Linked DNA regions of Homo sapiens: region 2 is linked to region 1. Evidence: promoter capture Hi-C in 16 types of primary human blood cells and fetal thymus (Javierre and others, 2016). All regions are on one chromosome and are shown on one strand. The core of a region is centred on a gene start or on the middle of the fragment in contact, and the rest is flanking DNA. Distances in the headings are between cores, read along the strand shown.

Evidence for each region. Contacts are between HindIII fragments. The CHiCAGO score rates a contact against its expected background, and 5 or more counts as called.
Region 2: a contact is called between a fragment that was not itself captured here and the fragment with the promoter of CHLSN in region 1, in 2 of 17 cell types (M2 macrophages and naive B cells). The highest score is 8.1, in M2 macrophages.

Annotation. Positions count from the first base shown.
Region 1 is chr7:1,136,317-1,140,859 of GRCh38, reverse strand. It overlaps CHLSN (cholesin), which reads left to right and starts at 2,613. Exons shown (of 5, transcript NM_001318252.2): 1 at 2,613-3,545. RefSeq lists silencers at 2,204-2,343, 2,544-2,993, 3,004-3,053 and an enhancer at 2,384-2,483. The HindIII fragment of the contact is 2,681 bases long and covers 1,340-4,020 here.
Region 2 is chr7:785,860-790,674 of GRCh38, reverse strand. LOC124901567 (a long non-coding RNA gene) reads right to left here and starts at 1,222. Exons shown (of 2, transcript XR_007060175.1): 1 at 1,152-1,222. DNAAF5 (dynein axonemal assembly factor 5) reads right to left here. Exons shown (of 13, transcript NM_017802.4): 13 at 4,200-4,815. The HindIII fragment of the contact is 873 bases long and covers 901-1,773 here.

The DNA of each region.
Region 1 (4,543 bases), core at 1,364-3,863:
TGCTCAGTGCCACTGGGATGTCATTGCATCCAAGTCCTTTCAGCATTTCTGTATTAGTCAGTATTCACACTGCTATTCAGACATACCTGAGACTGGTAATTTATAAATAAAAAGAAGTTGAATGGACTCACAGTTCCACATGGCTGGGGAGGCCTCTCAGTCTTGGCGGAAGGCAAAAGGCACATCTTACATGGCAACAGATGAGAGAAAATGAGAACCAAGCAAAAGGGGTTTCCCCTTATCAAACCATCAGATCTCATGAGACTTACTCACTACCAAGAGAACAGTATGGGGGAAACTGCCCCCATGATTCAATTATGTCCCACCAGGTCCCTCCCACAATGCATGGGAATTATGGGAGATACAATTCAAGATGAGATTTGGGTGGGGACACAGCCAAACCATATCAATTTCCAAAAATAAAAATGAAAAAAAATTATTTTCCTTTTTTCCTTTTTTTTTTTCACCCAGGCTGGAGTGCAGTGGTGTGATCATAGTTCACTGCAGCCTCCATCTTCCAGGCTCAAGCAATCCTTCCACCTCAGCCTCCTAAGTAGCTGGGACTATATGCGTGCACCACCACACCCAGCTAATTTTCTATTTTTATTTTTGTAGACATGAGGTCTTACTGTTTGCCCAGGCTGGTCTTGAACTCCTGGTGTCCATCCATCCTCCTGACTCAGCCTCCCAAAGAGCTGGGATTACAGGCCTGAGTCACTGCACCTGGCCATGATTCACTTTTTTTTTTTTTTTTTTTTTGAGCTGGAGTCTTGCTCTGTCGCCCAGGCTGGAGTGCAGTGGCGCGGTCTCAGCTCATTGCAACCTCTGCCTCCCGGGTTCAATAGGTTCTGATGCCTCAGCCTCCTGAGTAGCTGGGATTATAGGTACATGCCACCATGCCTGGCTAATTTTTGTATTTTTAGTAGAGATGGAGTTTTGCCACGTTGGCCAGGCTGGTGTTGAACTCCTGACTTCAAGTGATCCATCCACCTCAGCCTCCCAAAGTGCTGGGATTACAGGTGTGAGCCACCGCACCCGGCCGACTTCTAATGAACAGAATATGGCAAAAGCCTAGGGAAGTCACTTCTGAGATTAGGGTGCAAGGAGACTGTGATGTGCGTCTTGTGTGTGCCTCCTCTTGTGTGTGCTTGCACCGTCTAAGGCAAGCCAGCTGCAGTGTTGTGAGCTTCCTTGTGGTAAGGCCCATGTACCAAGGAACTGAGGGTGGCCTTTGGGCAGCAGCCAGCAAGGCTGAGGCCCTTCTCTAATGACCTTGGAGGACTGAGTCCTTACAATATCCGTGTGTGTGAGCTTGGGAGTGGATCATTCCAGATAAGCTTTCCGATGAAACCACAACCCTGGGGGGACACCTTGACCACAACTTGGTGAACCCTTGAGGCAAAGGCACAGAGCTTAGCCACGCCCACTTTCCTGACCGCGGATACCATGAAAAAATAAATGTTCTTTTAGGCTGCTAAATGTTGGGTTAATTTGTTATGCAGAAAAAGGAACCAAATACAATCTTCTACCAGTAAGGAAGAGTGCACCTTCTTTGCTTGTCACCTTTGGATTCCTGAGGCAACGTACATCATACTTGATACGGCTGCCAAGCACTTAACTTACTGGGTGACTTGAAAGCATGCTTTTTTTTCTTTTTTTTTTTTAGACGGGGTCTGGCTCTGTTGCCCAGGCTGGAGTGCAGTGCCTTGATCATAGCTCACTGCAGCCTCCATCTCCCAGGCTCCAGCGATCCTCCCACCTCAGCGTCCAGAGTATCAGGAACTACAGGCACGTGCCACCATACCCGGCTAATTTTTATTTTTTTAATTTATTTTTTATTTTTTAAAACAGAGTCTCATTCTGTCGCCCAGGCTGGAGTGCAGTGGCACGATCTCGGCTCACTGCAACCTCCACCTCCCGGGCTTAAACGATTTTCCTGCCTCAGCCTCCCGAGTAGCTGGGATTACAGGCACCTGCCACCACGCCTGGCTAATTTTTGTATTTTTAGCAGAGACGGGGTTACGGGGTTTCGTCATGTTGGCCAGGCGGGTCTCGAACTCCTGAGCTCAAGCGATCCGCCCGCCTGGGCCTCCCAAAATGCTGGGATCACAGGCGTGAGTCACCGCTCCCGGACACAAGCATTATTATAACACTACCCACCCTGTGTATTTTTTAGCACCTATCCTGATTTTTTAAATTCAGCACGAAGTTTAAGTCCTAGCCCTGTTGATCCCAATAGCCGTAGCTCATCCATTTCGACTCCGAGCCGAGCTCCATACCCTGGACCCTCGGCGGAGGCCCCACCCCGGGACGCCAGCCCGGCCGGGGCAGCTTGCACCCCAGACCCCCAAGCCCTGCGGGGCCCAAACCTAGTCATCTGCACTTGTTCTGGGCAGGGCGGGTTGCCTTGGCAACCAGCTCCTCTCCAAGCAACTCTAGGCCTCTAGAGATGGCGTCAGTAGCCCGCGCCCGGTCCTGGAACCGCCCCCCGTGCTGCCGCCGCTTGCCATTAGCCGGCGGAGAGACGGACGCAGACCTCGTCCAATGGGAGGCTCCGCACTCCTGAAGGCGGGACTAACGCTTACCTGGGGCGCGGGTCCCTGCCGGAAGGCGGCGTCCGCGACGCAGCTGTTCACGCTTAGGTGGGCGACGTGGGCGCAGGTGGGCGCAGGTAGGCGCGTGGGGCGGCGGCGGGGTGGCCGGCGGGTCAGGGCGCCAGGAGACCCAGAGCCCCGGGGCGGGCTCCCGCGGGGCTCCGCCCCCTCCACGTGGGTGCGCGGAGGCCCGGCGCGGCGCGACCGGGCGGCGGCCCTGGGGTCCGCGGTGCTGGGGAGGCTGGTGCGGCCGGTGCGGCCGGTGCGTCCCGGCGCGGGCTCCGACACCCGCACCCGCCTCTGGGTTAACTCAGCGCGGGCGAGTGGAAGGGACTCAGCTGGCTCCTAGGTTTCAGGCCGTCAGGGCTTGCAGTGGCTCTGGTTTCATTGTCTTTCTCTGAAGACGCCCTGATTGCCCTCCGAGGCTTTCAGCTCCCACTTTCTCTTTTTCAATTTTTGAGGCAGTGTCTCGCTGTGCCACCCAGGCTGGAGTGCAATGGCGTGATCATAGCTCACTGCAGCCTCCACCTCCTGGGCTCAAGCCGTCCTCCCGCCTCATCCTCCCAAGTAGCTGGGACCACATGCGCGCGCCACCACACCCGGATAATTTTTAAAAATGTTTTTTGTAGAAATGGGGTCTCACCATGTTACCCAGGCTGGTCTCGAATTCTTGGGCTCAAGCGATGGATCCTCCTGCCTCGGCCTCCCAAAGTGCTGGGATTACAGGAGTGAGCCAACGCGCTTGGCCTCACTTTCCATCATAAGCATGCTTTCCGTTTCCTTCCTTCCGTCATTCATTCATTCATTTTTAAAAAACGTTCATTGGGTTCCTCCTGCACTGTTCGGGGCATTGGGCTACAGCTGTCAACAAGTGGAGACAAGTCTGTGATCTAGTGAACTTCCATTCTGGAGGGGAGAGACAGATGAACAAGGTGCACAGAGCAGGTGATGGTAAGTGCCATGGAGAAGATGAGAACAGGGGTTTTGAGAATGGAAAGGAAGCAGGAGGAGGAGTGAGGCACCAGAACATTCCAGGTCGAGGAAACAGCAGGTGCAGGGGAAACAGCAGGGAGCCCAGTGTGGCTGCAGCCAATTTGGGAACAGAGAGAGAAAGAGGAGGTGAGTTCCCAGAGATGCGAGGAGGGGCCAGGGCAGTCGTGTGGACCTTACCAAGTGGCAAGGACCTTGACTTTCCCTCCAAGTGGAAGGGGACAGCTTGGGAAGTTTTTTGAGTGGAGGTGACACACCATCTGATTTAGGAGTTTAAAAGCCATCGTGAGAGGTGGTGGCTTGGACTGGGTACCTATGGGATCTTAAGGGAGTCACATTCTGGGTGTATTTCAGTGGTAAACCAACAGGAGTTTGTGGTGGGTTGGACGAGTATGTGAGAAAGAGAGGATTTATGGATGGACCAAGGTTTTAAGCTTGAGCTACTATGTGAACCTCATCAGATGGATGTTTATGGAGAGGATGAACACTAGGAAGCTCAGGTTTGTGGAGGGTGATCAGGGGTATTGATTACGAATTCTTAAGCTTGAGATGATATATGTGTAGATGATATATATAAGTACATATATATGGTTATATATATAGTTATATATATACACAGTTTATACACACATCCGCATATATATATTTATTTTTATATATTTATATATATTTATATATGTTTATATATGTTTATATATGTTTATGTTTATATGTTTATATATGTTTATATATGTTCATATATATGTTTATATATATTTATATATGTTTATATATATTTATATGTTTATATATGTTTATATATTTATATATGTTTATATATGTTTATATATATTTATATATATGTTTATATATATTTATATATATGTTTATATATATTTATATATATGTTTATATATTTATATATATTTATATATATGTTTATATATATTTATATGTTTATATATTTATATATTTATGTT
Region 2 (4,815 bases), core at 88-2,587, 350 kb after region 1:
GGCTGTCTTTGGCTACAAAAAGGTGAGTGTTTTTTCTTCAACCAACCAGCTCCCACCCTCCAGTAACCTCAGCTCTTCATTTAGGTCACAGAAAGGGGATTACAAAGGGAAGTAGAAATTGCCTTTGAATCACAGTGTAGGTAAGAACAAATAGATGAGTTGTTTTTATTTATTTTTTTGAGACAGAGTCTCACTCTGTCACCCAGGCTGGAGTGCAGTGGCGTGATCTCAGCTCACTGTAACGTCCGTCTCCTGGGTTCAAGCAATTCTCTCACCTCAGCTTACTGAGTAGCTTTGATACAAGCGCCCACCACCAGCCCCGGCTAATTTTTGTATTTTCAGTATAGATGAGGTTTCACTATCTTGGCCAGGCTGGTCTTGAACTCCTGACCTCAAGTGATCCACCAGCCTTTGGCTTCCCAAAGTGCTGGGATTACAGGCATAAGCAACCGTGCCTGGCCTATGACAAGAGCTTTTTGTTTGTTTGTTTGAGATGGGGTCTCGCACGATTGCCCAGGTTGGAGTGCAGTGGTGCAATCGTAGCTCACTACAGCCTCAACATCCTAGGCCCAGGAGATCCTCCCGCCTCTGCCTCCCGAGTAGCTGGAATTACAGGTATGCACCAACATGCCAGGTTAGTTTTTTTTTTTTTTTTTTCTGGAGAGACAGGGTCTCCTTATGATTCCCAAGCTGGGCTCAAGCGACCCTCCCACCTTGGCCTCCCAAAGTGCTGGGATTACAGGCGTGAGCCACTGTGCCTGGCAACAACAGCTTTTTGAGCTTCAGGAACTGAAGACTTTGTGTCCTTGGGTTAGGCAAAGATTTCCTAGATACAACACCAAAAGCACAATCCATTAAAAAAGAAATTGATAAATTAGACTTCATTCAAAATAAAAAGCTTATCTTCTTCAAACGACATTGTTAAAATAATGAAAAGACAAGCTATGGAATGAGAGAAAATATTTGCAAATCATAGATATATGATAAAGGACTTGTACCTAGAATATATGAAGAATTCTCAATATTCAGGAAGAACACAACCCAGTTTTGTCTAAATGGGCAAGATATTTGTATTAGTCCGTTCTCACATTGCCATAAAGAACTACCTGAGACTGGCTTGTTTATGAAGAAAAGAGGTTTAATTGACTCACAGTTCTCCATGGGTGGGGAGGCCTCAGGAAACTTCCAATCATGGCAGAAGGTGAAGGGGAACCAGGCACATCTTCACATGGCGACGGGAGAGAGAAGGCACACTTTTAAACAACCAGATCTCATAAGAACTCACTATCATGAGAACAGCAAGGGAGAAATCCATCCCCATGATCCAATCACCTCCCACCAGGTCCTTCCCTCAACACTGGGAATTATAGTTCAACATGAGATTTGGGTGGGGACACTCAGCCAAACCATGTCAATATTTAAAAAGACTCTTCACCAAAAAAGATACACAGATGGCAAATAAGCATATGAAAAGATGCTCAGCCTCATTAGACATTAGGGAAATGCAAACTAAAACCATAATGAGATACAACTATGTACCTATTAAAATGGCTAAAATTAAAAACTGATTAGCTAGTGTTGGCAAATATGGGAGGAACTGGAATTCTTGCACAGGGCTGGTGGAAATGGTCCCGCCACTCTGGAAAATAGAATGGTAGTTTCTTAAAAATTTAGTATACATCCACCATGACTGCCATTCTACTAGATGTTTATCCAAGAGAAATGAAAGTACCTATCCATACAAAGACATGTACACAAATGTTGGAAGAAGCTTTATTTGTAATAGCCAAAACCTGGAAAGACCTCAAACACACGTCAAAAGCTGAGTGGGTGAACACACTGTGGCTTATCTATAGAATGGAATATTACGCAGCAGCAAAAAGGAATGAACTATTGATGGACACCCCAACATAGATGGACATCAAAACTGATGAGTGAAAGAGGCAAGACAAAAAAAGTACATGTTGTATTAATGCACTCATTTATGATTTACAAAATTTTTTTTTTAAACAAGGTCTCACTTGTTTAAAAAAAGTGAGTGCAATCTTGGGTAACTGCAGCTTCGATTTCTCAGGCTCGGGTGATTCTTCCATCTCAGACTCCTGAGTAGCTCAGACTGCAGGTGTGCGCCACCATGCCCACTCATTTTTAAAATTTTTTTGTAGAGACGGGGTTTCCCAATGCTGTCCAGGCTGGTCTTGAATTCCTGGCCTCAAGAGATCTGCCCGCCTTGGCCTCCCAAAGTGCTGGGATTACAGGCATGGGCCACCAACACGCCCGGCTCATTTTAAAAATTTTTGGTAGAGATGGGGTCTCCCTCTGTTCCCCAGGCTGGTCTCGAACTCCTGGGCTCAAGTGATCCTCTCCACTCAGCATCCCAAAGTGCTGGATTTTACAGGCATGAACCACCACACCCGGCCTATCAACATTTCAAAGAATTAAGTGGAGAGGGACGTAATGCCTCTTGGGTGTCTGTGAACCCTTGTAGGCTGGGTTTCCGTCTTTCTCTGAACACACGCACCTGTGGACGTGCCAGGTCCCTGGGAGCTCCCTTTACAGATGTGTAGAGACGGAGCGGCAGCGCTGATGTCTCTTCCCATGCTGTGGCCCCAGCATGCAGGGCGAGGGACGGCCCAGGGGTTGGTGCACTTGCGTCCGAGGGGTCGAGGGGCCCCTCACACGTGTGTCCTCTCGGGCAAGCTCCCTGCCATTCATTTCTGGGTCTTGTGACAGAGACAGACGACGGAGCCTCGTGCTGGATGGGAGCTGGATGGGAACTGCTTGGTGCACAGGTGGGGGTCCTCCCAGTCCGCAGCCTCAGAATCACCTGCAGGGCTGACTGCGGCCCACCTGTCTCTGCCTCAGTAGGTCTGGCCTGAGGCCCTGCAATGTGCCTTTCTAACAAGCTTCCAGGTGAGGCTGCTGCCACTGGCTCCATCGCCACCAAGGACCACCGACCCAGGGGCTCTTGAGGGCTCTTCAAGGATGTGGCAGAAGCCACAGAGGTCAAAGGGCACACAAGGAAGAGGTGGAAGACCACCCCTGAGGGCCCCCGAAATCCCTGTGGCCACGAGTTACAGAAGCTGGCGCAGGGAACAGCCATGACGGTGCAACTCTGAAGGGGACCAGAGGGTGGCGAGGGTGTCTAGGGCAGGGGATGTGAGTCCATGGGGCAGGCTCAGCTATACATGCTGACCTCCCAATCCGGACACTCCAGCCATCCCCAAGGCTGAACTCCCCCAACCCTGACACCCCCCAGGGGTGACCTCCCCTAACCCAGACACCCCCCAAGAGTGACCTCCTCCCACCCTGACTCCCCCCAAGAGTGACCTCCCCCAACTCAGACACCCCCCAAGGCTGACCTCCCCCAACCCAGACACCCCCCAAGGCTGACCTCCCCCAACCCAGACACCCCCCAAGGCTGACCTCCCCCAACCCAGACACCACAAGGCTGACCTCCCCCAAACCAGATACCCCCCAAGGCTGACCTCACCCAACCCTGACACCCTCCGAGGTTCACCTCCCTCAACCCAGACACCCCCCAAGGCTGACCTCTCCACCCCGGCGTCCCCCCCAGGCTGACCTCCCACAACCTGGACACCCCAGCCACCCCCAAGGCTGACCTCCCCCAAGGCTGACCTCCCCCACCCAGACAATCCCAAAGGTGACCTTCCCCCACCCAGACAAAACACCCTCCATCAAGGTTGACGTCCCCCAACTCTGAAACCAACCCCCATCCAGATTGACCTCTCTGCACCTGGACACCCCACCTGCCAACCAGGCTGACCTCCCCCTACCCAGACACCCCCAAGGCTGGCCTGCCCTCACCCTGATGCCCCCCAAGGCTGACCTCACCCGACCCTGACACCCCCCAAGGCTGACCTCCCCAACCATGACACCCCTCCCAACGCTGGCCTGCCCTCACCCTGATGATGCCCCCCAAGGCTGACCTCCCCCAACCCTGACACCCCCCCAAGGCTGGCCTGCCCTCACCCTGATGCCCCAGCCCCTCTCAAGGTGAGTCCTATGGGGCCCTCCTTACCAGGGGTGTTCCCCGAACGTGTTGGGAGCTCCTGCCCCCTGGTGTCCAGAGCGGGCACTACGACACCCCACAGAGGAACTCTGGAATTCTAGAGGCTGGGATCCCTGCCTGACATGTCGGTTAGTTACCAACTCACAAAGTCAGGCATACACAATCATTAAAACAAACATTTTTAATTAAATTTTCAAACATGAAAGTATAAACGTTAATATTTGTTGAAAAATATATACGGCATTTCCCCCGTGTGAACACAATGGCTTCCGGTAACACTACCCACTTACAATGAGATCTTTTAGGCACTTGGGTGTAGAATGTGCGAGAGGGAAATGCAACTTTACTTTCCTGCTACCTATAGGGGCAACCACAATTAGATCTCATGAAATATTGTTTTCAACACTGTTAGCATTAACACCGACTTAAAACATACGGTGACCGGACATATAACCTTTAAAGTCCCAGTATATTTAAAACAGGAGAAATCTGATAAGTTGTTAGGATTCTAAATTCCTTTTAGTCTGTTCACTGAGATATTAAATTTCAGTAGACAGAACCCAAAAAGAGATTTCATTTCTTTCTAATCACTTTGGCTTCTTTCTTTTTTGTTAAGTAGGTAAAAACCTTCTTGGTGGGCACCTAAGCAGGATGCAGCCAATAGTTCATGAACCAGCTGCGCACGTGAGGCTTAAAATCTAAGATGCTGCTGAAGTGGCTGCGGGAGGAGCGGCTGCGACTTACTTTTAATTTCAAATCAGCTGCAGATGTTTGGGAGCCCT